6 separate regions of the Homo sapiens genome follow, and regions 1, 2, 3, 4 and 5 are each linked to region 6. The links are contacts of gene promoters, found by promoter capture Hi-C in blood cells and fetal thymus (Javierre and others, 2016). All regions are on one chromosome and are shown on one strand. The core of a region is centred on a gene start or on the middle of the fragment in contact, and the rest is flanking DNA. Distances in the headings are between cores, read along the strand shown.

Region 1 (4,369 bases), core at 649-3,148, 280 kb before region 6:
TAACTGACTAGTTTCAGAATTCATTGATGTTTCTTACCTGAGTCAATTATTATGATAGTAGGCAGATGATGATTTTCATGGTTCCTTCTATATTTATTAGTTGGAACTGTACTGAAAGGAAGAAACCTTCCTTTCTCTATTATTTACTTTTTGATTTACATCACTGGACTCATGAATTCTTGCTTTATTCAATAGATTATAGTCCATTACTCCCATTATGCATTTTGTTGCTCAAATTATCCTAGATTTGGCCAGTGGGAGTCCCTTCAGTCTGGCTTTTGTGTCCTTTTGACAAGTGCTCATCATTCTTTGAGGACTTTTCTTCCAGGCACAAAATCTTCAAGGACTCAGCTTATACTTTCCTTGTCCCAGCCCTGGAATCAGCCATTTCTCCAAAGAGTCCTGGTTTCCTTTAGTGGAGAGTGGTATAAAAACCGAGATGTAGGCACTATGTATTCTCGTTGCTACTGAGGTGTCACCCATTCTAGACCTTCTCAGGGGATAGATGCTCTCATTGTAAACATAAATGTAGTCACATTACACAAAATTTTCTGTGGCTTGCTTTTTAAATTTGTACTCCTTCCATTAGGCTTTGAAACTGTCTGTTTCCCTTTAACTTGGCCAACATTTAAGAGAATAAATCTTGTTAATTTTGCCAATCTAATGGGCAAGGAAGACATTATTGTTTTAATTGCATTTCCCAAATTACCAAAAATATTGGATACCTTTTCTTGTTAATGTATATTTTAACTTCTAATGAATTACCTGTTTATATCCTTTGTTCATTTTTTCTTGTTGGGCTGTTTTTCCTTATCTTACTAGATTGTGGAAGTTACGGTAACTTTGAATTTTATTCTTGGCAGCTTTAGAATGTTTTTTTAAGTGTGATGCTTTTTTAATTTTTTTTTAAAGTCCTAAATGACAAGGAACCCAAGCTTTTCTGAGTACCCCCTGCATGCCAGGCCTCCCTGGACATCCTGTGGGAGGTTCTGTCCAAAGGTGAGCTGTGGTGTTGAGGAGTGGTTAGAGCATCCCCCGAGGGTAGTTAAAAGAGGCTCAACTGGGACTAAAACCCAGTTATATCACCTAACTTCCTTCACAGGATTGAAAAATGAAAGCTTTTCAATGAGGGATAAAAATTGATTACCTGGATTTGCCAGTATCAACAATTTCTGTTTTCAGTATTTTGGTTTATAAATCAGGAATTTCTTTTACACAGTCCTTTTTGCTGAGCATACACATCTTTCGAAACCATTTATTTTATCCCTAGAACTATTGTGGACTCTGGTGCTGCACTTTCTGTGAGCATCCAGCTAGCTGTGTGACTTTGGGCAAGTGGCTTAATCTTTCTGTGCCTCAGTTATTTCATCCACAAAACTGGGCTGCTGGTAGTAGCAGCCCCAGAGGCTTGTTGGGGGATTAAATGAATTAACATTTAATCCTGGTGCCTAGTAAGTGTGCAGAACGGAAGCATTACAATGGATTCGTATACAGAGTGTGGGTGGTTGGCAGAGCTTGGAATTAGATCAGCCTTTCCTCTGTGGATTTAATCTCTTAGTTGTCTCTTTCTGTTTTTTTTGAGATGGAGTCTCACTCTGTCGCCTAGGCTAGAGTGCAGTGGCTCTAGCCTGCAACCTCGGCTCACTGCAACCTCCGCCCCCTGGGTTCAAGCAGTACTCCTGCCTCACCCTCCCTAGTAGCTGAGATTACAGGCATATACCACCATGCCTGGCTAATTTTGTATTTTTAGTAGAGACGGGGTTTCACCATGTTGGCCAGGCTGTTCTTGAACTCCTCACCTCAGGTGATCCACCCACCTCTGCCCCCCAAAGTGCTGGGATTACAGGCATGAGCCACTGCACCCGGCCTTAGCTGTCCCTTTCACCATAGCCTGTCTGGGATTGGAAAGCCAGGGTCCTGGGTGCAGTGTGCATGTCTCTTTCTGGTCTTTGCACATACCTTTGTCATGCCCTATCAGGCTGTCAGGCCCAGGCCTGCCAGCCAGCCAGCCCAGCTGGCCTCTGGTGTTTGCCCACAGCCCTAACCTGGAGCATGGGTGAGACTGCTGGCCTTTTAATATGAAACTTGTTCAGTGAGGCTCACCTGGCGAGGGACTTAGGCACAGTAAGCAGATGTATATGGTGGGGGCAGTGGGGGGATCATGCTCTGGTGAGGTCTATTTTCTGGAATAGGGTCAGGAAGACAGGGATGTCCTCTGATGTCCAGGAAGAAGGGTGGGGACCTCTGAAAGAGGAAAGTGTTTACCCGCTGCCAGCTCCGGTCCTGGGATCCTCCTAGAGCGCTTTCCCTGAGACACCTGGTAGTTTTCCTGACCTCCGGTTGCTGCAGCGCCCCTCTTTTTGCACCTCACTAGGTGGTATTCTGATGTCTCCTGAAAACCCCCTGCCCCTTTCCTGCCCCTCCCATAGCCCTCACGCAGGTGGTGTCAGCTGCTGTTATGGAAGCTGTCTATTATTAATTCACCCTAGCATATTGAACGCCCTTCTTTCCCTCTCTCATGTTGCTTGCATCTCTAAAGGGTGTATTCTCAAACCAATTAATTTGAATTTTCAAGAAGGATGACCTAAGTGTATAAACTCTGGAAATGTGAAGGAAGTATTTAGGCAGATGGTTGTTTCTGGGAAACAGGGCTCTACTAGGAAACAAGGATGCCCAGTTCAAGCTTCTCCCTGGATTATGGGGTGTGTCAGTTGGGATGCTTTTGGTTGCCAACAGTGACATTTATTATCTCAGAGAACTGGAGTCTCCATCAGCATGTCAGCAGTTTCATCAAGGACCTCGATTCTGCTCCTCTGTCCAGCCATCACTGCCGGTTTCATCCTAGGGGGTTAGTCTCCTCATGATTCTGAGATGGTCGTTGGGGGCAGTGGGACTGCGTGCTTCCTTGTTCCTGTCCAGCAGGAGCAGGGAAGGAGACAAAGCAGCTGATTCCCCAGCCACAGTGTCTACCAGTCCTTCCCTCTGGCCTGTGGAGCAAAGGGTCACGTGGCCTTCCCTGGACCAGCAACATGAGGCTGTGAGAGTGCTGTGTGCTGGTTGGCTTAGGCTGGTGGTCCTCCAGGTGTGGTCCTCAGACCAGTAGCATCAGCATTACCTGAGAACTTGTTAGAACTGGAGATTAGTGGATCCTACCCCACCCACTGAATCAGAAACTCTGGGATGGGGCCCAGAAAGCTGTGCTTTAAGAAGACTTCCAGGTGATTCTGATGCAAGGTCACATTGGAGAACAGCTCTTTTAGTTTAATCAAGACTCCCCTACTCCCCAGCTGGAGACAGGGCTGACTTTTCCTGAGGACCGGGGAGGAGGTTAGGTCCTAGAATAGCAAGAAGGAAGAGAGGATGGTGGGTGGCCAGCCCACAGTGTGAACTAGCCAGTGTTTACGGCCCTGGGGGCCGCTTTGCTCTCCGGAGTCCTTCCCCTGCCCCCCATTCGCCAGCTTGTCCACCCATATAAGTTTCTCAGCCCCCTTGCCTCAAGCTTCTCCAGCTCCTCCAAGCATGGCCTGTACTCTCCCTGTACAGCTCGGTGCTAAAGGAAGCAACCTCAGTAACACTCCAGCTCCAGGTCCCTCTCTGGCCTAGCAGGGATGGAGTCTACCTGGCTGGTGCTGAAGAGTCCCAAAGAGCTGTTATGACTCACCTTCTGAAGCCATTCCTGAAGTGTGTTCATTTGTGTAGGGGTTGCCTACGCTGCTACTCCTTGCTCAGCTAGGAAAAAAGAGCAGTGCAGTTAGTAGGTGCTTGAGAAATATTTAGGGAATTGGCCTGGAGACAGCCCAAGTGACTACTTTCAGTGGTGATTTTTACCTGTGTTATGTCCCCTTTTTTGCAAGTACAACTCCAACTTGATGTTTGGGTGAAATAAATAGCCACCTCCACGGTGTAATTTGTGAGATCACAATGACCCACTTTTCCGAATTTTTCCTGAAACTAAAGAGTTGAGATATTTCTGGGTTTTCAGCTTTAAAGATTCATCTTAATACATAAAAATAACGTTTAGGAGTAGTCTTGCACTGAGCTCTAACCACATTAGCACTAATTATTGCGGAAGGAAGGGCACCTGAGGAGGAAACATGCTAGAGAAGGGTCCACACAGCATGTTTCAAAATGCAGTGGTTCATGAAATCAATTTGAGGTTGTAACTGGCATTAAAAAGCTTTTTGAAATAGCAAATATCCAAGTACGTTTCCTATGGGAAGGATAAGCATTTTTTGGTAAAACATCTAGTTATTCACATGTAGTGTATTTGGGGTGTTGTTATGGTGTGACTGTTTCTTAGAGTGGATTTTGGTAAAGATGTGTCAAACCCTAGGGCTGAGTGCAGGGGGTCCTAACCTGTAGGAAGGTG
Region 2 (4,312 bases), core at 826-3,325, 330 kb after region 6:
AAACTGATATAACCACTTTGTTTTTTGTTTCCATCTCCTCCAGCATTTATCCTTTGTGTTACAAATAATACAATTAGACTCTTTTAGTTATTTTTAAATGTACAATAAATTACTGTTGACTATAGTCACCCTGTTGTACTATCAAATACTAGATATTATTTATTCAATTTGTCAGGTTTTTACAAAGTTAAGCATACTTACCATATAATCCAGCAATTCCACTCCTAGTTATTTATCCAAGAAAAATGAAAACTTACATGAACGCAAAGACTTGAACACAATGTTCACAGAAATTATATTCCTCACGGCCAAAAACTAGAAACAACCTGTTATGGACAAAACTGTGTCCCCTCCAAATTCATACGTTGAACCCTAACCCCCTAGTGTGACTATATTTGGAGATAGGACCTTTAAAGAGGTAATTAAGGTTAAATGGGGTTATAAGGATAGGATCCTAATCCAACATGACTGGTGTCCTTATAAGAATAGGGAGAGACACCAAGGATGTGCATGCACAGAAGAAAGGCCATGTGAGAATGTAGCAAGAAGGCAGACATTTGCAGACCAAGGAGAGAAGCCCCAGAAGAAACCAAACCTTCCGGCACTGTGATCTTAGATTTCCAGTCTCCAGAACTGTGAGAAAATCATTCAGAGGGAAATAAACAAATCCACAGTTACAGAGGAAGATTTTAACATGTCTTTCAGTATTTGAGAGATCAAGAATACAAATATAGTAAGGATTTATAAGACTTGACTGACACTATTAACAAGCCTAATCTGTAAATATATATAACATACATATATGTGTCCACCAAGAAGTGAGCACAGATGCTTTTCAAGGTCATGTAGAATATTATCAAATATTGATTACATAATCTGCCACTAAGCAATTCTTAGCAGATAACAAAGAATTAATTATCATAAGCCATTTTATCTGATCACAATATTAGAAACATTAGACAATAAGATATTAGACACAACAAAGTAAAAATAGACTAATAACCTCAAGTCCCCTGCACATTGGAAAGTTTTTTAAAACTTCAGGTCAAGTGTGGTGGCTCATGCCTCTAATCCTAGCACTTTGGGAGGTTGAGGTGGGAGGATCACTTGAGGCCAGGAGATCAAGACCAGCTTGGGCAATATAGTAAGACTCCATTGCTACAAAAATATTAAAAATTAGCTGGGTGTGGTGACTCACACTTGTAGTGTTAGCCACTTGGAGGCTGAGACAGATGGATCACCTGTGCCCAGGAATTGGAGGCTGCGGTGAGCTATGATTGTACCACTGCACTCCAGCCTAGGAACAGAGTGAGACTCTGTCTCAAACAAACAGACAAACAAACTTTAGTAATTAAAAATAAATCATAATGAAACGAGATGATATTAAAAACTGAATGGCAATGAAAGGATTATCTCAAAACTTGTGGGCTGCAGGTGGCTGCACCCAAAAAAATAGAAATTTCCAGTCTTCAATGCATAGAAAAGAAATAAAATCATGAAATCTGATACATTTATTCTAAAATTCATCTGAGACAGGTTAATAAGGACCAAGTACAGTCCAGATAATTTGAGGGAACATTAATTCTTCCAGATATCAAGACTCAACATAAAATTATAATAGCTACAAGAGTGTGTTATTGACAAGGGGATAAATTGACCAATGGAGCAGAATGTATGGGAACTTATTTTTATGACAAAGTAGACTTGACTTATATTTCAGAGAAGAAAGGACAACGGATATCTATTCACAAAAATAAAAATTATATGTCTACTTCGAACTGCACAAAATCAATCTCAAGCAGGTTAAAGTCCTAAATGTAAATGGCAAAATTTCACATACTTTCAAACATTTAGAAGAACTTTTAAATGAAAATATAGGAAAATATCTCTCTGGCCTTGGGATTGTATAGGATTTCTTAAAGAAGACATAAAAGTATAAACTATATAGGAAAATATTGATAATAATTCTGAGTATATCAGAACTGAACATGTCTGTTTATACTGCAAGGAAGGTGAAAAGACAAGCCACAGACAAGGACAATATAATTGTAATATCTTTAAGAGGATTATTATCAAGAATACATAGAGAATTCCGTTAAAAATCAATATGAAGGCAGGGTGTGGTGGCTCAGGCCTGTGATCCCAGCACTTTGGGAGGGCAAGGTGGGTGGATCATGAGGTCAAGAGATCGAGAACAGCCTGGCCAACATGGTGAAACCCCATCTCTACTAAATACAAAAAAAAAACTAGTTGGCCAGGGTGGTGCGCACCTGTAGTCCCAGCTACTTGGGAGGTTGAGGCAGGAGAATCACTTGAATCTGGAAAGCGGAGGTTGCAGTGAGCCAAGATCACGCCACTGCACTCCAGCCTGGCGACAGAGCGAGACTCCATCTCAAAAAAATATATATATATGAAAAAGATAAGCTATGCAATAGAAAAATGGCCAAAGTTTACAAAAATTTCATTCAAGAGAAATTCAAGAAAATGTTCATAGAGGAAGAATCCTAAATGGCAAAGAAACATGAAAAGGTCCTCAATTTCACTTGCAATCAAGGAAGCACAAGACAAAAAGTATGGAAAAAATTGTCTGACAATATCAAGTATTGATTCACATTTGAGAAAATAACTCAGGATTTCTTATGGCAGAATGACACTTTAGAGAGCAATTTGACAAAAACTTAGAAGAGCTGAAATTGCACATATCTTGGATCTACTCCAGGCATATAGCTTTTTAAAATTCACTTCCAGGCATAAATATAGGGAAACATGTAGTCAAGGAGAAATGTAAAAGGTTTGTTGCAGTGTTTTATCACAGAAAAAAGTGAAAAAAAATTAACTTTCCTTCAATATGGGAATGAATTTTAAAAAGGGAATATTTATACAATGAATATATGCAACTGTTTGAGTAAAGCAGTACACTATATATATATCAAAATAGATGTGTCAAAATTATAATATTGAGCAAAGAGGGCAAGTTGCAAATGAATATCTCCAACTATGTTTGTTTTCACTTAAATAAAAACCAAAACATACCAAATAACATTATACATTATTTGTGGGTGTAAGATTGTAGAAAAAGTATAAACATATGCAAAGGAGTTAGACACACTGACAGGAAAGTTATGCACACCAGCAACTAGGGAGGTAGGAGGGAAAAGGATGAGAGAAGTTTTATCTGTAATGTTTTATTTCTTTAAACAAGGAGACATTTGAAGCAAACATGGCAAAATGTTAGTATCCTTACATGTGGGAGCTGGGGATATGTTTATCTGTTTTGTTACTTTTGCACTTTTATGGTATGTTTGAAATAGTTTCTAATTTTAACAAATGCTAATGATTGTTCTGGATGTAGGGTAGATAAGAGATTGTAGAAGAATCAAAGTATAAGGAGAATGGTTAGCATGCTACAATTCACAGTACATTTAAATAATTTACGTGTTTGTTCATACATTTAATTTATGGAAGGCCAAACAAAACTCTTTTAAATATGATGCAGGATGTATTATAAGCATATTTTTCCAAACTTACTTGCTCAACCTCTCTGTTGAGGGAATCTACTTTTTCTTTTAATCTGTTACCCTCTGCCTCAGCAGTGATAAGTTCCAGTTTGAGGGTATTGTTATCTGCCTCTGATTGACGGGCTTTATTTTCCCAGTTTTCAGCATCTTCATTGGCTTTTCGAAGTTGTTCCATCATTTGCCGGTTCTCAGATTCCTGAAAAGCAAACTTTAGCTATTACTTTAAAATGCTGAACATATGATAAAAATTAAACATTATTATCCAAGTCATTGGGAATTCACTTGCCATGAGAAGCGTTTATAATAGAACCCTGAGGAAATATATCTATACTCTTAGTTTAGAAAACAGGTCATCCTGTAATTAACAAAGACTGCAATCAGCATCTGCCCTGGCTCCTGAGTAACACTCAGTGAACACTAGTAAATAGTAAATTTAGGTAAATTACTCTTTTCTTCAAGACCTGAATGAATTTGTTCTTATATTTCCTTTTGTTTGAAGTCCTCCACAGCCTGCTTTTCCCATATGTCTGCTTACTGACTACTTGCTGGTCTGGATTCTGAGCCTCTGACCTTTCGTACTGGTGTATTCCCTTGTTCTTGACCAATTTACCGGGCTGTGCTGGCTACAGAGCTTCTGAGTACTTGCATATTTTAAATGTCAGCTTCTGATAATTTCCTGTCTGGTGTCTGCCTTTTATTCATAGCCCCAGCCTTAATTATCTTGATCATGAACTGTTCTATGATTATCTTTTACCTGCTAGTCTAGTAACTTTCCCTGCCAGTCTAGTAACTTT
Region 3 (4,323 bases), core at 161-2,660, 410 kb after region 6:
TATATAGTACCCTGTGCTTGCTCTCTCGTGACAGACACCTTCTAAGGTCTTGGTTTTCTAGTCCCTTAATTTTTCCATCATTTCAAAAGCTTCACTACAAAAACCTCTGTTATTACTATTTTTTGTTTTGTTTTCACTGTCCTCTTCCTGATCCCCTCAAAAAAAAATCTGGGACTCCAATTCCATATGTGTTAAGCCACTTGATCTTGTTCCACAGCTCACTGATGCTGTGTTCCTTTTTTTTGTTTGTTTTTTTGAGATGGAGTCTCGCTTTGTCTCCCAGGCTGGAGTGCAGTGGCGCGATCTCCGCTCACTGGAAGCTCTGCCTCGCGGCTTCACGCCATTCTCCTGCCTCAGCCTCCCGAGCAGCTGGGACTACAGGCGCCCACCACCACGCCCGGCTAATTTTTTTGTATTTTTAGTAGAGACGGGGTTTCACTGTGTTAGCCAGGATGATCTCGATCTCCTGACCTCATGACCTGCCCGCCTCGGCCTCCCAAAGTGCTGGGATTACAGGCATGAGCCACCGCGCCCGGCCTGTGTTCCGTTTTTTAAATCAGAGAGTTTCCTCCTTATGCCGAGGCCTGAAAGTTCCAGGCAATGTCCATTCATAGGGCTCACTTTATTTCCTGTTTCTCAAGGATCACTCTCCCGAACTGCCTGTTGTCCAATATCTAAAAGCCATTGCTTCATGTGTTTTGTGTTTTGATGCTGAAAGCAGGCGGGGCACGGTGGCTCATGCCTGTAATCCAGCTACTCGGGAGGCTGAGGCAGGAGACTTGCTTGAACCCGGGAGGCAGAGGTTGCGGTAAGCCGAGATCGTGCCATCGCCCTCCAGCCTGGGGGACAAGAACAAAACTCTGTCTCAAAAAAAAAAAAAAAAAAAAAAGATGCTGAAAGCATGAGGATAAGTCTGGTCTCTGTTACTCCATCATGACTAGCAGCAGAAGTCTGCCATTCTTCACAGTTCCAGGCCCCATGTCACTAACTATCCTCAAGGGATGTGGTTTGCAATGCAAAAATTGCTTCAGGCTGGGGGAACTGTAAGTGCAAAGGTCCTGAAGCAGGAGAAGGTTTGGCATAGAATATGCTTGAGGAACAGCAATGGGGTGATAGGTCTGGGGTCGAATAAGGCAAAGAGACAGGAGAGAGTGCTTGCTAGTAGAGTTGTTTGCTACGGCTGTGCAACAATTTACCACACACTTGGTGTCTTTAAGCAACACAAATTTATTATCACACGGTTCTGGAGATTTACAAGTTCAAATTGGGTCTCACTGGGCTAAAATCAAGATGTCAGGCAGGTCTACATTCCTTCTGGAGGCTCTAGGGGAAAATCCCCTTTCTTGCCTTTCCAGCTTCTACTGGCAGCCCATGTTCCTTGGCTTGTGATCCCAGTCTATATTCAACGCCAAAAATGGCCAGTCAAGTCCTCCTCACATTGCATCATGGCTAACACATTCTACCTCCCTCTTTCACTTCTAAAGACTCTTGTGTGGCAGGTGCGGTGACTCACACCTATAATCCCAGCATTTTGGGAGGCCAAGGCAGGTGGATCACTTGAGGTCAGGAGTTCAAGACCAGCCTGTTCAACATGGCAAAACCCTGTCTCTCCCCAAAAATACAAAAATTAACTGATCGTGGTGGCAGGCACCTGTAATCCCAGCTACTTGGGAGCTGAGGCACGAGAATCACTTGAACCCAGGAGGCGGAGGCTGCAGTCACCCTAGATCACACCACTGCACTCCAACCTGGGCAACAGAGTGAGACTCTGTCCCAAAAAGAAAAAAAAAAAAGACCCTTGTGATTACATTAGTACCACCCAATTAATCCAGGAGAATTTTCCCACCCTCAGAGTCAGCTGATTAGCAACCTTAATTCCCCCTTGCCACATAACATAACATAGTCCCAGCTTCTGGGGATTAGGACAAAGACATCTTTGAAGACTATTATTCTGCCTACCACAGCTGGGGACCAGATATGTAGATAATTTTTTTCTCTGATATGGGAAGCAACTAGAGTGTGTTGAGCAGAGGACTGCTGTGATCTGGGTTTTGTTATAAAAGGTTCAAACCAGTCCAGGCATGGTGGCTTACGCCAGTAATCCCAGCACTTTGGGAAGTGGGAGGATTGCTTGAGTACAGGCATTCGAGACCAGCCTGGGCAACACAGTGACACCCTGTCTCTACAAAAAAAATGAATTTTAAAAATTAGCCAGATGTGGCCAGGTACGGTGGCTCATGCTGTAATCCAAGCACTTTAGGAGGCCAAGGAGGGCAGATCACTTGAGGTCAGGAATTCGAGACCAGCCTGGCCAACATGGCGAAACATCGTCTCTACTAAAAATACAAAAATTAGCCGGGCATGGTGGCAGGTGCCTGTAATCCCAGCTACTCGGGAGGCCTCAGCAGGAGAATCATGTGAACCCAGAAAGGCGGAGGTTGCAATTTCTTTGCAACTTGAATTTCTCTGATTCCTAGTTAATTATCTGTTTGGGATTCCTCAATCTGTGAATTATGTTTTTATATCCTTTGCCCATTTTTCTATTGGGTTTTCTTTTTCCTTGCTAATTTCTAGGTGTTCTCTTTTTATTCCAGCCATTAAATACCATCAGCTTTGGACACAGAAAATATCTCCTTCCAGTCTCTTATCTATCTTTTTGTTTATATTTTTTTCATTGAATAGAAATTCTCAATTATGAGTAATCAAACTCACTGTTTTCCTCCCTTATTGTTTAAGCTTTTTAGTCTTGTTCAAGAAATCTTTCTTCACTCCAAGGTAACAGATATTTTCTTCTATTGCATTTACAGTTCTGCCATTCACATTTAGGTCTTTAATGCATTTGCACTCCACTTTTTTTTCTTTTTGAGACGGAGTCTTGCTCTGTCGCCCAGGCTGGAGTGCAATGGTATGATCTCAGCTCACTGCAACCTCCACCCCCTGGGTTCAAGCGATTCTCCTGCCTCAGCCTCCTGAGTAGCTGGAATTACAGGCACCCGCCACCACACCTGGCTAATTTTTGTATTTTTAGTAGAGACAGAGTTTCACCATGTTGATCAGGCTGGTCTCGAACTCCTGACCTCGTGATCCGCCCACCTCAGCCTCCCAAAGGGCTAGGATTACAGGCGTGAGCCACCGCGCCCAGCCTACTTCTGTGTTTAAGATCCTGCTTATGTCCACATAGTTAGCCAATGTTCACGATACCATCATACTAAACTTAGTCTGTTCTATCTCCTTTGTCTTATAGTGCCACCTGTGATATATGTGAAGTTCCTGAAATACCTAAGTCCAAGTTACAGCTCTGTCATATTCTACTGATTATTTGTTCCTGTACCTGTACAAGGTTATTTTTATTACTTTCACTTTGTGGCATATCTTTTTGTTTTTTTTAATTTTTTTCTGATAGGGATGAGGTCTCCCTATGTTGCCCAGGCTGGTCTCAAACTGCTGGACTCAAGAGATCTTTCCACCTTGGCCTCCCAAAGTGCTGGAATTACAGGCGTGAGCCATTGTGCCCAGCCGCGTAGCCTATCTTAATATCTAGTAAAGAAAGCCACTTTGTTCTTTTTCTCCAGATTGATTTATCTCTTTATGTACCTTTATTCTTACATATATATTCCAGATTTCTTCTTGAATGGCAACCTAAATGCCAGTCCAAAGAGGCCCCCAATAGACTTGTTCACCCTTCATGTCCTCAACTCTGGGGAAGTTAAGGTAAGACTCACAGGGCCAAGTCTACCCTATTATACTTGGTTCCTCCTCAGTCCTTTTATTAGATTGAAGTTTAATGTGCAAATTGATAATTATATGTTACCATTCTTTTACGTTTGTTGATTTCAAATGCCATGTTTTAGAGTTTTGTGTTTTTTAAAACGTTTTTTCAATTTTGTATTTTGAAAAAGTTTTAAACCTACAGAAATGTAATAATAATAATATGTAGAACAACTTTTTAAGCTTTACCTCCTAGATTTAACAGTTGTTAGCATTTTGCATATTTTACTGTCTTTCTGTATCTATGTATCTATCTATCTATTGCTAAACAATTTGAGGGCAAGTTGCAGATACAATTCTTCACCCCTAACTATTTCAGTATGTATTTCCTAAGAACAAGGACATTGACTTATATAACCACAATACAATTATCATATTCATGGCATTTATCACATTGATCCAATATTATTATCTAATATTGTCCCATATCCAAATGTTTCAGTTATCTAAGTAATGATCTTTGTAGTACATTCCATCCCCTTCCCAATTCAAGAGCATTGGTTGCATCTGAAATAATGTATCTTTAGCCTCCTTTAATCTGAAACAGTTCCTCAG
Region 4 (4,296 bases), core at 1,089-3,588, 260 kb before region 6:
CAAGACTGGACATCTGCATCTGGTGAGGCCTCAGGCTGCTTCTACTCGTGGTGGAAGGTGAAGGGGAGCTGTCGTGTGCTGAGCTCACATGGCGAGAGAGGAAGGAAGGGAGCGGGTGGTGGTGGTGGTGTCCCAGGCTCTTTTCACAGCCAGCTCTTGTGGGAACCAACGGAGTGAGAACTCACGCACCCTCAAAGCGGGGGGTGGTTGGGGGAGGGCATTAATGTATACATGAGGGATCTGCCCCCATGACCCAAATACTTCCCATTAGGCCCCACTTCTGACATTCGGGATTAAATTTCAGTGTGGAGTTTGGAGGGGACAAACATTGTCCTCTTGTGCCTGTGCCACACTTGCCCCTCCGTCCCCCTCATCTGCTGATGATTCATCACACTGTTAACTTGGTCTCTACATCTGTTTAAACGCTTTCTCCTTTCCCCTATTATGTTGCTGTTAAGACTGTGAAGCTGTCAGCAATGTTAGCGACACCGTCCACATGTGGGGACAACAGGTCCAGTGAACCTAGCATCATCAGTGTCCTTTGCCCTTGGAACTGAGTGGAAATTATCTTCTCAGCCTCCATGGATTTAACTTCTGTGTTCTTGATGTGAAGCTTCTTTTCCTTAAGTTAGAGTTTTTGCATATACATCCCACACATACACTTGCATTTGATTTTCTTGTCTGTATATGCACACACAACACACACTTGATTTTCTTGCACCATAATAACGTTTTTCTGATTTTAAATTAGAAAAGGACAAATGAGTTGAATAGTTATCTATTAGTTATAGATAATTATCTATTATCTAATTATTATCTAGTTCTCTATTTAATAGTTATCTATTAGTTATTAACTGTCTAATAGTTATTTATTTCTTGGGAACTTAAGTACCAACTTAGTGGTAATTTTACATGAAATGAAATGTTCTCTGGGTTCCAGATAACTTATAAATGGGCTTTTAGAGTACAGCCTGTTGGTTGAACAGGCCGTAAGTTCAGCCTCATCTTTGTCGAGTTCCACAACTAAGTTTTACAATTATTTATGAATGATAGTGCTTAGCATACTTTCCAACTCAGTGAGACCATGAACTAATTGAATTTGTAATAACCCTGAGTAAATCTTAGTGGACTAATAGTAAAACTTTGAGGTTTTACAGTAAGAAAGTGAGATCCTTAGATATACCAATTTTAATGTCTCAGTAAAGAAAACAATTTTATTGATTGATTGATTGATTGAGACAGGGTCTTGCTCTGTTGTCTAGTCTGGAGTACAGCCATGTAATCATAGCTCATTGCAGCCTTGAACTCCTGGACTTAAGTGATCCTCCCACCTCAGGGTTCTGAGTAGTTGGGAGTACAGAAATGCCTTACCATGCCTAAATTTTATTTTTTATTTTTTTGTAGGGATGGGGGTCTTGCTTTGTTACCCAGGGTGGTCTTGAACCCCTGGCCTCAAATGATCCTCTCACCTTGACCTCCCAAAGCGCTAGGATTTCAGGTATGAGCCACCATGTATGGCTGAAAACAGAAAATTTATAAGGTGCCACTAGGGGAGGGTAATAAAGGAAGGAAGGGGAATGAAATCCAAACCAAAATAAATGCTGTTTAGTGTGTGGCTGGTGGGTCGCATTTCTCATTCTAAGAACTGTGGCATTTCTTTTTGATGGTTCTGTTGATCCTGAAACCAGTGAGACTGCAGTTTGTGAAGGATGATGATAGAAGTCGATAACTCCTCATGGTTCATTGCTGGACCATGAGTTTAGCTGTAACTAGATGCAAAGCTCATGGCTGAGATTGAGAGCCAGAGAGACCCAAAGTCTCTACATCACGCCCACACTGGTACTTCCAGCCTAGGAGGCGTGGTGAATGCCTCCCACAGTGGTTGCTGAGATGGCTTTGAGCAGAGCAGAGATGAGTCAACCATGGCAGGATAAAGTGAACAGCTGGGAAAAGGGGTTTTGGGGGCTGGGGGTAAGGGGAACTGGAATAGTGTTGCAATTTTCCCCATCCTGGCTGTACCTTACCATCACCTAGGGGCTTTTGAAAAACATGGCAGCCTGCCCTCCACCCATGCTGTGCTAATTAGTGTAATCCTGGGTGGGGCCAGCATGACATTTGCCACCTTTCCCATGAGGTGATTTGGAGGTACAGCTGGGGTGGAGAGCAGTGGGCCTTAGAGGTTTAGAACCCAGCCTCCTGGCTGGGCACGGTGGCTCACGCCTGTAATCCCGGCACTTTGGGAGGCCGAGGTGGGTAGATCACGAGGTCAGGAGTTCAAGACCAGCCTGGCCAAGATGGTGAAACCCCATCTCTACTAAAAATACAAAAATTAGTCGGGTGTGGTGGCTGGCATGCGCCTGTAATCCCAGCTTCTCGGGAGGCTGAGGCAAGGAATGGCTTGAACCTGGGAGGCGGAGGTTGCAGTGAGCCGAGATCGCGCCATTGCACTCCAGCCTGGGCAACAGAGCAAGACTCCGTCTCAAAAAAAAAAAAAAGAACTTGGGCCGGGTGCGGTGGCTCATGCCTGTAATGTCAGCACTTTGAGAGGCCAAGGCAGGCAGATCACCTGAGGTCAGGAGTTCGAGGCTAGCCTGACCAACATGGAGAAACCCTGTCTCTACTAAAAATACAAAAAATTAGCCGGGCGTTGGGGCGCATCCCTGTAATCCCAGCTACTTGGGAGGCTGAGGCAGGAGAATCCCTTGAACCTGGGAGGTGGAGGTTGTGGTGAGCTGAGATCACGCCATTGCACTCCAGCCTGGGCAGCAAGAAAGAAATTCCGTCTCAAACAACAACAACAACAACAAAAAGAACTTGGCCTCCTGATGAAATAGGCCCACCTGTTTCAAATCCCCACATATTGGTGTTGAGCCAGTCTCTTAGATGCCGAGCCTCAGTCCCCTCCTTCTCTCAGGCTGTGAAGGTGAACTGTGATGTGCAGAGCTGCAGCATGTTCTGCTGTGCACCAAGGAGGGTTCCACAGTCATAGAGGCATAGTCATGACTGATGTGAAAGGGCCAACGCACGTGACCTCCTGCCCCTGTCCGTCCACATCTCACTTGGTAAAACCACAGCCCTGGTTCTGGCCACTTCTCAGCACAGTGGCCTGTGGCTGGAGAAGAACACATGACATGTTGATGAGTCTGTAAATTCATGACCACAGAGCTCCAGTGAGCCATTGGGAGTGCTTGGCACTCAGAGTGTTTCCCTGTGGTCCTAGACTGGGGAGCGGCCCCTGGATTTTAAAGAGCTCTGGACCCAGTGGTGCAGGTGGGGAGACCTGGCCCCTGGAGGCTGACCCAGTGCACGTGCAGCCCCACCTGGGGTTCCCCTGATTGGACTCCTGCCTCAGGAGGGGCATGAGACTCACTTGGCGCTGCTTCTGAGCTCTAAGTCCTTGCTCCTTAGTGGTCTGTCCCTTCCCTCCGCAGGGAGGCATGGCCCGCTGGGCTTCGGCCCCTGCAAGGAGGCCTGGTGGGGCCTTTCGCCTTCTCAGCCAGGCACTGAAGGAGCAGGAAGGGGAAGCATGATACCAGGACCACAGGAAGAAGTGGTGCTGAGTTGGGTGGTCACTTCCTTGGTGTGACCTCTGGTTAGACGTGGTTCAGGGCCATGTTGCAGGAGGAGCTGGAAGACATTTCTTTTTTTCTTTTTTTTTTTGTTTTTTGAGACGGAGTCTTGCTCTGTTGCCCAGGCTGGAGTGCAGTGGCGCGACCTCGGCTCACTGCAAGCTCCGCCTCCCGGGTTTAAGCTGTTCTCCTGCCTCAGCCTCCCGAGCAGCTGGGACTACAGGCACGCACCACCACGCCCGGCTAATTTTTGTATTTTTAGTAGAGACGGGGTTTCACCATGTTAGCCAGGCTGATCTCGAACTCCTGACCTGGTGATCCACCCACCTTGGCCTCCCAAAGTACTGGGATTACATGCGTGAGCCACCGCACCCAGCCACTGGAAGACATTTCTAAAGAAACCATCACCATCCTTCTCTGAATAGGTTTCAGTGTGGTTTTATGTTTGTTGCAACCTTGTTGACCTGTAGTTTCAGAAACCAGAATGGTTTGGCCCAAGCTTTTGATTTGAGATCACACTAAAATAGTTTTAGCTGAGGGTGTTGGAGGTGCCTCCTGTGTATATGAGTGTGCGTGTATGTGGTGTGCCTGTGCGTGCATGCATGTGTGTGTCTGTGGCTTCACTGTAGATGGCCGTTGTGAATGATGTCCTGACCTGAGTCCTGTGAGAAACACTGTTGAGTTACTTCACAGTCATTCCACACAGGAGAAAAGGATGAATGACCCT
Region 5 (3,883 bases), core at 390-2,889, 440 kb after region 6:
TTTTACTTTACATGGTCTCTTAATAAGCATCTCACAAAATCGAAGAAAGTTATACAGCTAAAAGACATTAGAATGGATTATTACTAATTTAGTACATTGAATATGATATTTCATTATATTTTAGTATGTTCACATACCTGATGAGTATGTCTAATATAAGGATCTTCTATCCAAACTTCTGTAACTGTCTCATTAAGGTATTCGCGAAAAAGTGACTCATAACTGAAACCTGTTGCATTCTCTTCTATTTTAATTTGCTTGTGATATTTTCCATCTATAAAACACAGGCTTCAACAGTAAAACCAGTGACCATTTTTTTTTTACACATTTTATATTTTATATAGAGTGATTAATCAGCATCAGATACATATTAATTTTTTTAACTTATTCAGCAAATACTTATTGAATGCCTACTAAATATCATATACATTGCAGGATGTTACACGTACAAAGGTATTTAAGGCAAACCACTCCATTAGTGATTTCTGCCTTCACAGAGGCTAGGCAAGGGGGAAAATCTAGAGGTTTCCTGGAACAGGTCCTTGAGCAAGATCCTATAGACCAGGCAGTTTGTTGAAGGGAGTAGTGTATATATAAAGGTATCCAATAACTCCCTGTCGCCATGGGTAGCACCACATACTGAAACTCAGTGGCTATCTGGTCCTCCTCTTCAGACTTGTCTTTTTATGTCTTGCAATCTAATAACTAAAGTGAGTATTAAACATGAATGCAGGGCAGAGCGCGGTAGCTCACGCCTGTAATCCCAGCATTTTGGGAGGCCAAGGTAGGTAGATCATTTGAGGTCAGGAGTTCGAGACCAGCCTGGCCAACATGGTGAAACCCCAGCTCTACTAAAAATATAAAAAGTAGCCAGGCATGATGTCAGGTGCCTGTAGTCCCAACTACCTGGGGGGCTGAGGCAGGAGAATCACTTGAACCCAGGTGGATGTTGCAGTGAGCTGAGATCATGCCACCGCACTCCAGCCTGGGCAACAGAGCAAGACTCTGCCTTAAAAAAAAAAAAAAAAATTAATGCAGTATAATATGAAGCTTCAAAGTCTTTCTTGGCACGTGTACAGTTTTAAACAGAAATTTATAGTACTTCTTAATAAGCTAAAGACTGGGATGTCACAGGATCAAGAGGATAGATCTATTGCTTTTGTTCATTCAAAATGAATATTGAAAAAGTTATCAGAAACCTTTAAGGTTTTAAAAAAATATGACCCCTGGCTGGGCATGGTGGCTCACACTTGTAATCCCAGCACTTTGGGAGGCTGAGGCGGGAGGATCACCTGAGGTCAGGAGTTAGAGACCAGCCTGACCAATATGGCAAAACCTCAACTCTACTAAAAATACAAAAATGAGCCAGGCTTGGCGGCGGGTGCCTGTAGTCCCAGCTACTCGGGAGGCTGGGACAGAAGAATTGCTTGAACCCAGCAGGCAGAGGTTGCAGTAAGCAGAGATCGCGCCACTGCACTCCAGCCTGGGCGACACAGCGAGACTCCGTCTAAAAAAAAAAAAAAAAACCCTAATGGTAGCCCCTAAATTATACTTTACACTTTGTTTAAAAATCAGTAGTTTGGATTCTGTTCCAAATATTTCCACATAGATAACATTGGCAACTATGCCTTATTTTTTAAGCCAAGATAGCCGTATAGAGGTTAATTTAATTCCATGTACTCAAAACCACAATGCTGGAGGTACTATATTTCATCAATGTTTTGGAGTAAAATTTCATTCTAAATTTCAAATCGGGGCTAAGGAAACATAACTTTATTCCCACTGAACAAAGGAGCTCAGTGGGGGGTCCCCAGGGTATGTACTGATACAGGATAGTAGGAAGAGATGGGGAAAGGGGTGTAGAAAGTATAGAGAGGAAGAAAAGCTGGGGCCTGGGGGCACTGGCTTTTGAGGGCAGCAGTACCTTTGGCTATAGAAAGCAGCAAGTATGCACTCAGGTAAGGGTGGAAATGGCCATTTACAGACATTTGTAAACTGGATGCTTAGGAGTAGGGAACTAATAATAGGGAACAATACCTACCTGACCTCTAATCATTAGGAATGCTTAACTCCTGAGGTGTTTTGATTCACAACAAAATCTGAGAGAAATCCCAGGAGTTTCTTTAGCTTCTTTCATGATTTTGGTCATTTCATAAAGGGAAATATAAATAAAATACACAATTTACATTCAGTATTCCCTGTAGTATTTCTTAACATAGGGTCCACACATAAGCTTCATAGGGATTTGTGAACCCCTTAAAAATGGCATGGAACATTCTCCAGTAAGTATAGCTTTCATGAGATGTTCAAAGGGGTGTCTGATATTCCCACCCCCAACTAAAAACAAAAGCCAAAACAAACAAACAAACAAAAAATTAAGAACAACTCCTGTATGGGAGTGGAAATACAGATTAAATCCTGTAAGCTCCCAGGGACAACTGGTCCAGACCACACAGAGCTCCAAAGGGCAGGAGCCAGAAACATTGGGTGAATGGACAGTCACAGTTGTTTATGGATGCATTTTCTAAAACAACCTCTTTACCTTCTTTTTCTTGGTCCAAGTACTTCTTTATGTTTTCCGCTCTGTCCATGTATTTGGAAATTTTTTCTCTGAGATTACATCTCTTAGTATTATCTTTGGTACCTACAAATTTAAAAATATATATTATCAAGTATCAAAATAGTTTTTCTATTTAATTTGGGCATTATTTTCAGTTTCTCAAGTTTTCTACAAATTTCCTATCCTCTAGTATGGCTTGCCTCAGTCCTCAAACACACACAATAAACTCAAATTTGGCTTGAACATACAAGACCTTCATATTTACACGAAGCGTGATGCAGCTTGGTTTAGGAGTGGGAGCTCTTGACACTATGTCTCATCTCTGGGACATCAAATCTGGTGGGATGAAAGGTGGCTCATTACATGTCAAACTCATGTCTGAGCACTATTTTATCCTAACTACCCACAAGTTTGAAATTTTTGCATAATTAAAAGTAGCAAAAAATATTTATCTTCCACAAAACCAGCTACTCTTCCAGACCTCCCCATTATAGTTAATGCACATTTTTCCAGCTACCACAAAAATGTTATTTTTGAATATACATGATCATAAAGTTTTACCCAACCACCCCTCCTCCCAAATCAGTCAACAAATCACTTCTTGTTCCTTCCCTTTTTTCCTTTCAACATCGCTTATATTTTCCATAAATAATCTCATTTTTTGTTTGTTTGTTTTGAGACGGAATCTCGCTCTGTCGCCCAGGCTGGAGTGCAGTGGCATGATCTCGGCTCTCTGCAACCTCCACCTCCCGGGTTCAAGCAATTCTCCTGTCTTAGACTCCTGAGTAGCTGGGACTACAGGCGCCCACCACTATGCCTGGCTAGTTTTTGTATTTTTAGTAGAGACTGGGTTTCACCATGTTGGTCAGGCTGGTCTCGAACTCCTGACCTCAAGTGATCCTCCTGCCTCGGCCTCCCAAAGTGCTGGGATTACAGGCGTGAGCCACCGTGCCCGGCCCATTTTTGTATTTTTAGTAGAGACGGCGTTTCACCATATTGGTTAGGCTGGTCTCCGACTCCTGATCTCAGGTGATCCGCCCACCTCGGCCTCCCAAAGTGCTGGGATTACAGGCGTGAGCCACACTGCCCAGCCAATAATTTCATTTTAATCTCTCATTTTAAAAAACATTTTGAGTTAATTTTTTATATTTACAGAAAAGTTGCAAAAATGGTACAGATAACCTCCTTCACCTAGATTCTCTTAATGTTAACATATCACAAACCATACTACAAGTATCAGAGCTAGGAAATTAACACTGAAACAATACTATGAACTTATCTACAAACCTTATTTGAATTTCACCAATTTTCCCACTAATGAAA
Region 6 (4,335 bases), core at 199-2,698:
TTTACTTATTTTAAAGTGTTCTCTGAAATACTCAATATAGTCCACGGCTGAGAACACTTTGCCGAACGTTTGGCATCTTCCTTAATCAGCATCCCACAGACAGGGTAGAGGTGACTTAAGAATGAAAGGCACAATAATCCCTGATATCTGGAATCAATAAAATCCATGACGTAAGCCTATATAACTTTACACACCACAATTGTGGCAAAATTCATTTATTTGCCATTTATAAACGGGTCAGTAGTTTTCTTTAATACAGCTTACGTAATGTCATCGCCCAGTGCGTTTTCGGGTTTACACGTGTGGGTTAAAGAAATCTATGTCAAGATAACCTGTTCATCAAACTGTTTTTTAAACATTCAGAAAAAGAAACATAAACCACAAAACGCATATTTTTATTCTAAATTTACAGTCTACGTTCCAACGAACGACTGTCATTATCTTTTATCAAATAATCTGTCCAACAGCAAAAGCACAACAGCAAAATACGTGGAAAGCATTCAAAGCATACATTGTGCCTGCTTCTATTTTCCAATGCGGAATGTAGGCAATGAAACCGCTCCAGAGAAACACACTGTTGCGAGGAATAAAGGCGGGTGTGCAAGTGGCTCGACTGCCAGCTCAGAAAAGCTCGCCTCCGAGATGTCACCTGGCACACTTGGTGGAGTCACCGAGACCCAGCCTCAGGGTCCTACTGCAGCTTCCTCATTACGGAGAGAGCTGAGGCCTGGGGAAACGGGGGCTGCTCTTTCACGCGGGCCCCGCAGCCCTTCACTTTGTGTGAAAATTCCCTGCGAAGGCTGCACGGCCGGTCCCCTCGGGAGCAGCCCCTGCCCCTGCGCCTCGGACCGTCCGGCCCCGCCCACCTGCCCCGCGGCCCCCGCGAAAGCGCCGACTCCCGCGCAGCCCCCGGGTCCCACAGGCAGCTGTCCCTCCCCCTCCGCACCCCCCGGATCAGCACTTTGCTCCACTTTCCCCCAAAGTCGCCGAGCCCCGCCACGCCGGGGAGCGCCAGGAACGCACCAGGCGCCGAGCCGGCCGCAGAGAGGGCGCGCGACCCCGAGGGGTGCGCGGTGCGGGGCAGGGACGCTGGGAGGACGGCCCGGCCCGCGCCCCGCCGCCCGCCCCCGAGGCCCAGCCGCTCCCGGAGCCGGCCCCGCGCCCAGAGGCGCCAACAGCTCCCCCGCACAGAGCTCCGGCCGGGCCGCGGCGCAGTAGGCTCCTTTACCAGCAGGTGGATCTCCCGCAGCCCGGGGCCGCCAGCCCGGCCGCCGGCGCCGCCCCCAACTCCCGCGCCCTCCGCGCAGCCGCCCCGCGCCCCCTCCCGCCCCCGCGCGCCGCCGCTGCCGCCGCGAGCCCCTCACCCGCCGCTGGCGTCGCCGTGCTCCCGCGGCTGCCGGCGGAGCTGCTGTAGCCGCCGCCGCCGCTGCCGCCGCCGCTGCGGGCCGCCCCGCCCGCCCCGCCGGCTCCGCCCCCGCCGCTGGAGCGCCCGCCCCGCCCCGCCCCGCCGGGCCGCCCCGACCCCGCCAGCCATTGGCCGGCCCCGCGGGCCCCGCGCCCCGCGCCCCGCGCCCCACCAGTGGCCCGCGCGACTGTCACTTAGGGGCGCCGCCACGCAGCCTGCGGAGCGTTCGGGAGGCTGGCCCGGCTCATCGGTGTCACGGCGAGGTCCGGAGCGGAGCCGCGGTCTCGGGTCCCAGCTCTGGGCGCCGGCCTGCTCCCCGCCGCCCCGCTGCCACATCTGGCTGAGATCCTCCCGGCGCGTGCAGGGACCGCTCCGGCGGCCAACAAAGGCCCGGGCGAGCCCTCGGCCTGCGCCTCGGCGCGCGACCCGACCACCCGGGGCTGCCCCAGCTCCCAGGCGCCTGCCTGCCTCGACCCGGCCCCTTCCCAGCGGCGCGCCCCGCTCCGGGCCGCCCAAACTGGGCGGCCTCCCCGGGGACAGGTCCCGGGCCCAGCCCCACAGGAGCTCCCGAGGCCCCGCGGACGGTCGCGACAGCCCCAACTTCCCGGTGAGAACCCCGCGAATCGGCCAGAAGGGCTGATTTCAGCAACTGGGAAGGAGAAAAACAACTAGGGTTTCAACGCACATCGTTGGGTGCTAATGCCCCTGATTTTCCACTATGCCCCGTTTTCTTGAACCCCATGTCCTTATCTGTCGCCGTTTCACAAGGTTAGAGGTTAACTTCAAAGGCAAAAAACTGACTCGTTTGTAGAAAGCCTGGGTGGTCTGTCCCTGTTTTTCATAGTATCCATAGGACTTGTGCTAACAGTAACTACCCCTGGGTACGTCCTCTTTTGAATACTTAACTGTATAGCAGGCAACCGTATAGCAGGCATGGGTGTTAGATCGTTTATTGCATATCTCATGTTTTAAATTTATTCCCCATTTTTCATAAGAGGAAACTAGCTGAGAGGTGAAAGGGCTTGCCCAAGGTCACACAGCTGGTAATGGTTCAAAAACAAGGGATGTGTTAACTTTATTGCCGCAATAATCCTTACAGCAATCCTACCGAGTAACCTGTAAGGGAATTGAGGGGCCAAAGATCAAGGAGGCAGCCTTGTTCCTGCCAAACTCCCAAAGTAATAAGTAGATTCTTTTCAGAAAACAGTAATTTCAATAATCGAAAACTCTTAAGAGGCATCAATCAGAACAGGGTCCCCTCCCCACCTCCGATAAATTCCATTATTTTTATCTCAAGATAAGAATAATTAATAATCAGCTAGAACATGCATGGAGTTATCAGCCTTCCCATGTTGAGGTTTCTCCATGACGGCTAATTTAAAACTTCAGGAAGAGACACGTAACATCCCTGCTCCCATAGTCTCTTACTAGTTTAGGGGAACCATACCAAAAGATCTGTCCACTGCCCAGCACTGTGGACACAACTTGGGGGATCACAGCCATGATATCCAATGACAGCTCTTCCCTCTACTTTGAGTGTGTTTTCTCTCTACTTCCGGTTTGGCTGTGTCCCCACCCAAATATCATCTTGAATTGTAAATCCCACAATTCCTGTGTGGTGGGAGGAACCTGGTGGGAGGTAATTGAATCATGGGGGAGGGTCTTTCCCATGCTGTTCTCGTGATAGTGAATAAGTCTCACGAAATCTGATGGTTTTAAAAAAGGGAGTTTTGCTGCACAAACTCTCTTTGCCTGCCACCATCCATGTAAGAAGTGACTTGCTCCTCCTTGCCTTCCACCATGATTGTGAGGCCTCCCCTGCCATGTGGAACTGTAACTCCATTGAACCTCTTTTGTCCGTTGCCCAGTCTTGGGTATGTCTTTATCAGCAGCATGAAAACGGACGAATACATTGGGGACCTGAAAGCCAGGTTTCCTGTATTCTATGACAAAGCCATTGCCAAGTAGCAAGCTGGCAATTTGATTCATGACCAGATGTAAACAGAGGTAAAGACTGAGACCATTCCAAGGTAAAGCTTTTAATACATTGTTGGATATATCCTGCCTAAAATATCTCCTAGGAATAGATGATTCTAGGCTTTGCTATTACAGTGCTCTTAATGACAGACAAGCAAACTACTTCTTGCAGAGGAAGAAAGTCCTGCCATTTGATAACATCATGGAGAATGCCCCCAAGCCATTTTCATGAATTACCCAAAAGACCAAATGGAACAGGAGCTATTATCCCTATTTTATTCACGAAGAAACTGAGGCCCTGAGAAATTAAGACATTTGACAGATACAAACAGTAATTTAGGCAATTAGTAAATGTTTGAATCAGAGTTCAAATCCAGGTCTGTTTGATTCCAGAGCCCCTACATCACCCCTCCAGACTATCTCTCTGCTCACATCTTCAGCAAGTTACAAAATTTTGTTGAGTGGATGAATATTTTTACATATATTTCCCAGCTGGGCACAGTGGCTCATGCCCATAATCCCAGCACTTTGGGAGGCAGAGGTAGGAGGATTGCTTGAGCCCAGGAGTTCGAGACCGGCCGGGGAAACAGAGAGAGACCCATGTCTTTAAAAAAATAAAAATTAAAAATTAGCCTGGTGTGCATGCATCAGTAGTCCCAGCTACTGGGAAGGCTGAGGCATGAGGATCATTTGAGCCCAGGAGTTCCAGGCTGCAATGAAATATGATCATGCCACTGCACTACAGCCTGGGTGACAGAGTGAGACCCTGTCTCTCTCTCTCTCTCTCTCTCTCTCTCTCTCTCTCTCTCTCTCTCAAAAGAAAGAAAAAAAAAAGCCAGGTGTGGTGGCTCACTCCTGTAATCCCAGCACTTTGGGAGGCTGAGGCGGGCAGATCACCTGAGGTTCAGGAGTTCAAGACCAGTCTGACCAACAGTGTGAAACCCTGTCTCTAT

Evidence for each region. The method cuts DNA at HindIII sites, captures the fragments that hold promoters and counts their contacts. A CHiCAGO score of 5 or more calls a contact.
Region 1: a contact is called between a fragment that was not itself captured here and the fragment with the promoter of MGAT4A in region 6, in 5 of 17 cell types (non-activated CD4 T cells, activated CD4 T cells, total CD8 T cells and 2 more). The highest score is 9.1, in non-activated CD4 T cells.
Region 2: a fragment that was not itself captured here is called in contact with the fragment with the promoter of MGAT4A in region 6 in 3 of 17 cell types (M2 macrophages, M0 macrophages and M1 macrophages); the score reaches 9.0 in M2 macrophages.
Region 3: a fragment that was not itself captured here is called in contact with the fragment with the promoter of MGAT4A in region 6 in 3 of 17 cell types (naive CD4 T cells, activated CD4 T cells and total CD4 T cells); the score reaches 6.5 in naive CD4 T cells.
Region 4: a fragment that was not itself captured here is called in contact with the fragment with the promoter of MGAT4A in region 6 in 4 of 17 cell types (non-activated CD4 T cells, total CD8 T cells, activated CD4 T cells and 1 more); the score reaches 9.0 in non-activated CD4 T cells.
Region 5: a contact is called between a fragment that was not itself captured here and the fragment with the promoter of MGAT4A in region 6, in 3 of 17 cell types (activated CD4 T cells, total CD4 T cells and naive CD4 T cells). The highest score is 7.1, in activated CD4 T cells.

What each region holds. Positions count from the first base shown.
Region 1 is chr2:98,449,203-98,453,571 of GRCh38, forward strand. All of the region lies in intron 1 of INPP4A (inositol polyphosphate-4-phosphatase type I A), which reads left to right. Among named protein-coding and RNA genes, the nearest start is that of INPP4A, 6.5 kb to the left of the region's middle. The HindIII fragment of the contact is 1,565 bases long and covers 1,117-2,681 here.
Region 2 is chr2:99,061,411-99,065,722 of GRCh38, forward strand. It overlaps TSGA10 (testis specific 10), which reads right to left. Exons shown (of 21, transcript NM_025244.4): 16 at 3,529-3,714. Among named protein-coding and RNA genes, the nearest start is that of C2orf15, 78 kb to the right of the region's middle. The HindIII fragment of the contact is 7,108 bases long and covers 1-4,312 here.
Region 3 is chr2:99,143,783-99,148,105 of GRCh38, forward strand. The region is part of intron 1 of TSGA10 (testis specific 10); the gene reads right to left. It overlaps C2orf15 (chromosome 2 open reading frame 15), which reads left to right. Exons shown (of 4, transcript NM_144706.4): 3 at 3,620-3,711. Among named protein-coding and RNA genes, the nearest start is that of C2orf15, 4.2 kb to the left of the region's middle. The HindIII fragment of the contact is 2,647 bases long and covers 88-2,734 here.
Region 4 is chr2:98,467,019-98,471,314 of GRCh38, forward strand. All of the region lies in intron 1 of INPP4A (inositol polyphosphate-4-phosphatase type I A), which reads left to right. Among named protein-coding and RNA genes, the nearest start is that of INPP4A, 24 kb to the left of the region's middle. RefSeq lists a silencer at 1,772-1,901. The HindIII fragment of the contact is 3,455 bases long and covers 612-4,066 here.
Region 5 is chr2:99,171,373-99,175,255 of GRCh38, forward strand. MITD1 (microtubule interacting and trafficking domain containing 1) reads right to left here. Exons shown (of 7, transcript NM_138798.3): 2 at 2,543-2,644; 3 at 138-274; 4 at 1-57. Among named protein-coding and RNA genes, the nearest start is that of MITD1, 7.7 kb to the right of the region's middle. The HindIII fragment of the contact is 1,183 bases long and covers 1,049-2,231 here.
Region 6 is chr2:98,729,684-98,734,018 of GRCh38, forward strand. MGAT4A (alpha-1,3-mannosyl-glycoprotein 4-beta-N-acetylglucosaminyltransferase A) reads right to left here and starts at 1,449. Exons shown (of 16, transcript NM_012214.3): 1 at 1,365-1,449. LOC107985922 (a long non-coding RNA gene) reads left to right here and starts at 1,598. Exons shown (of 2, transcript XR_007087150.1): 1 at 1,598-2,012. RefSeq lists silencers at 1,457-1,786, 1,807-1,996, 2,103-2,397. The HindIII fragment of the contact is 4,047 bases long and covers 1-3,439 here.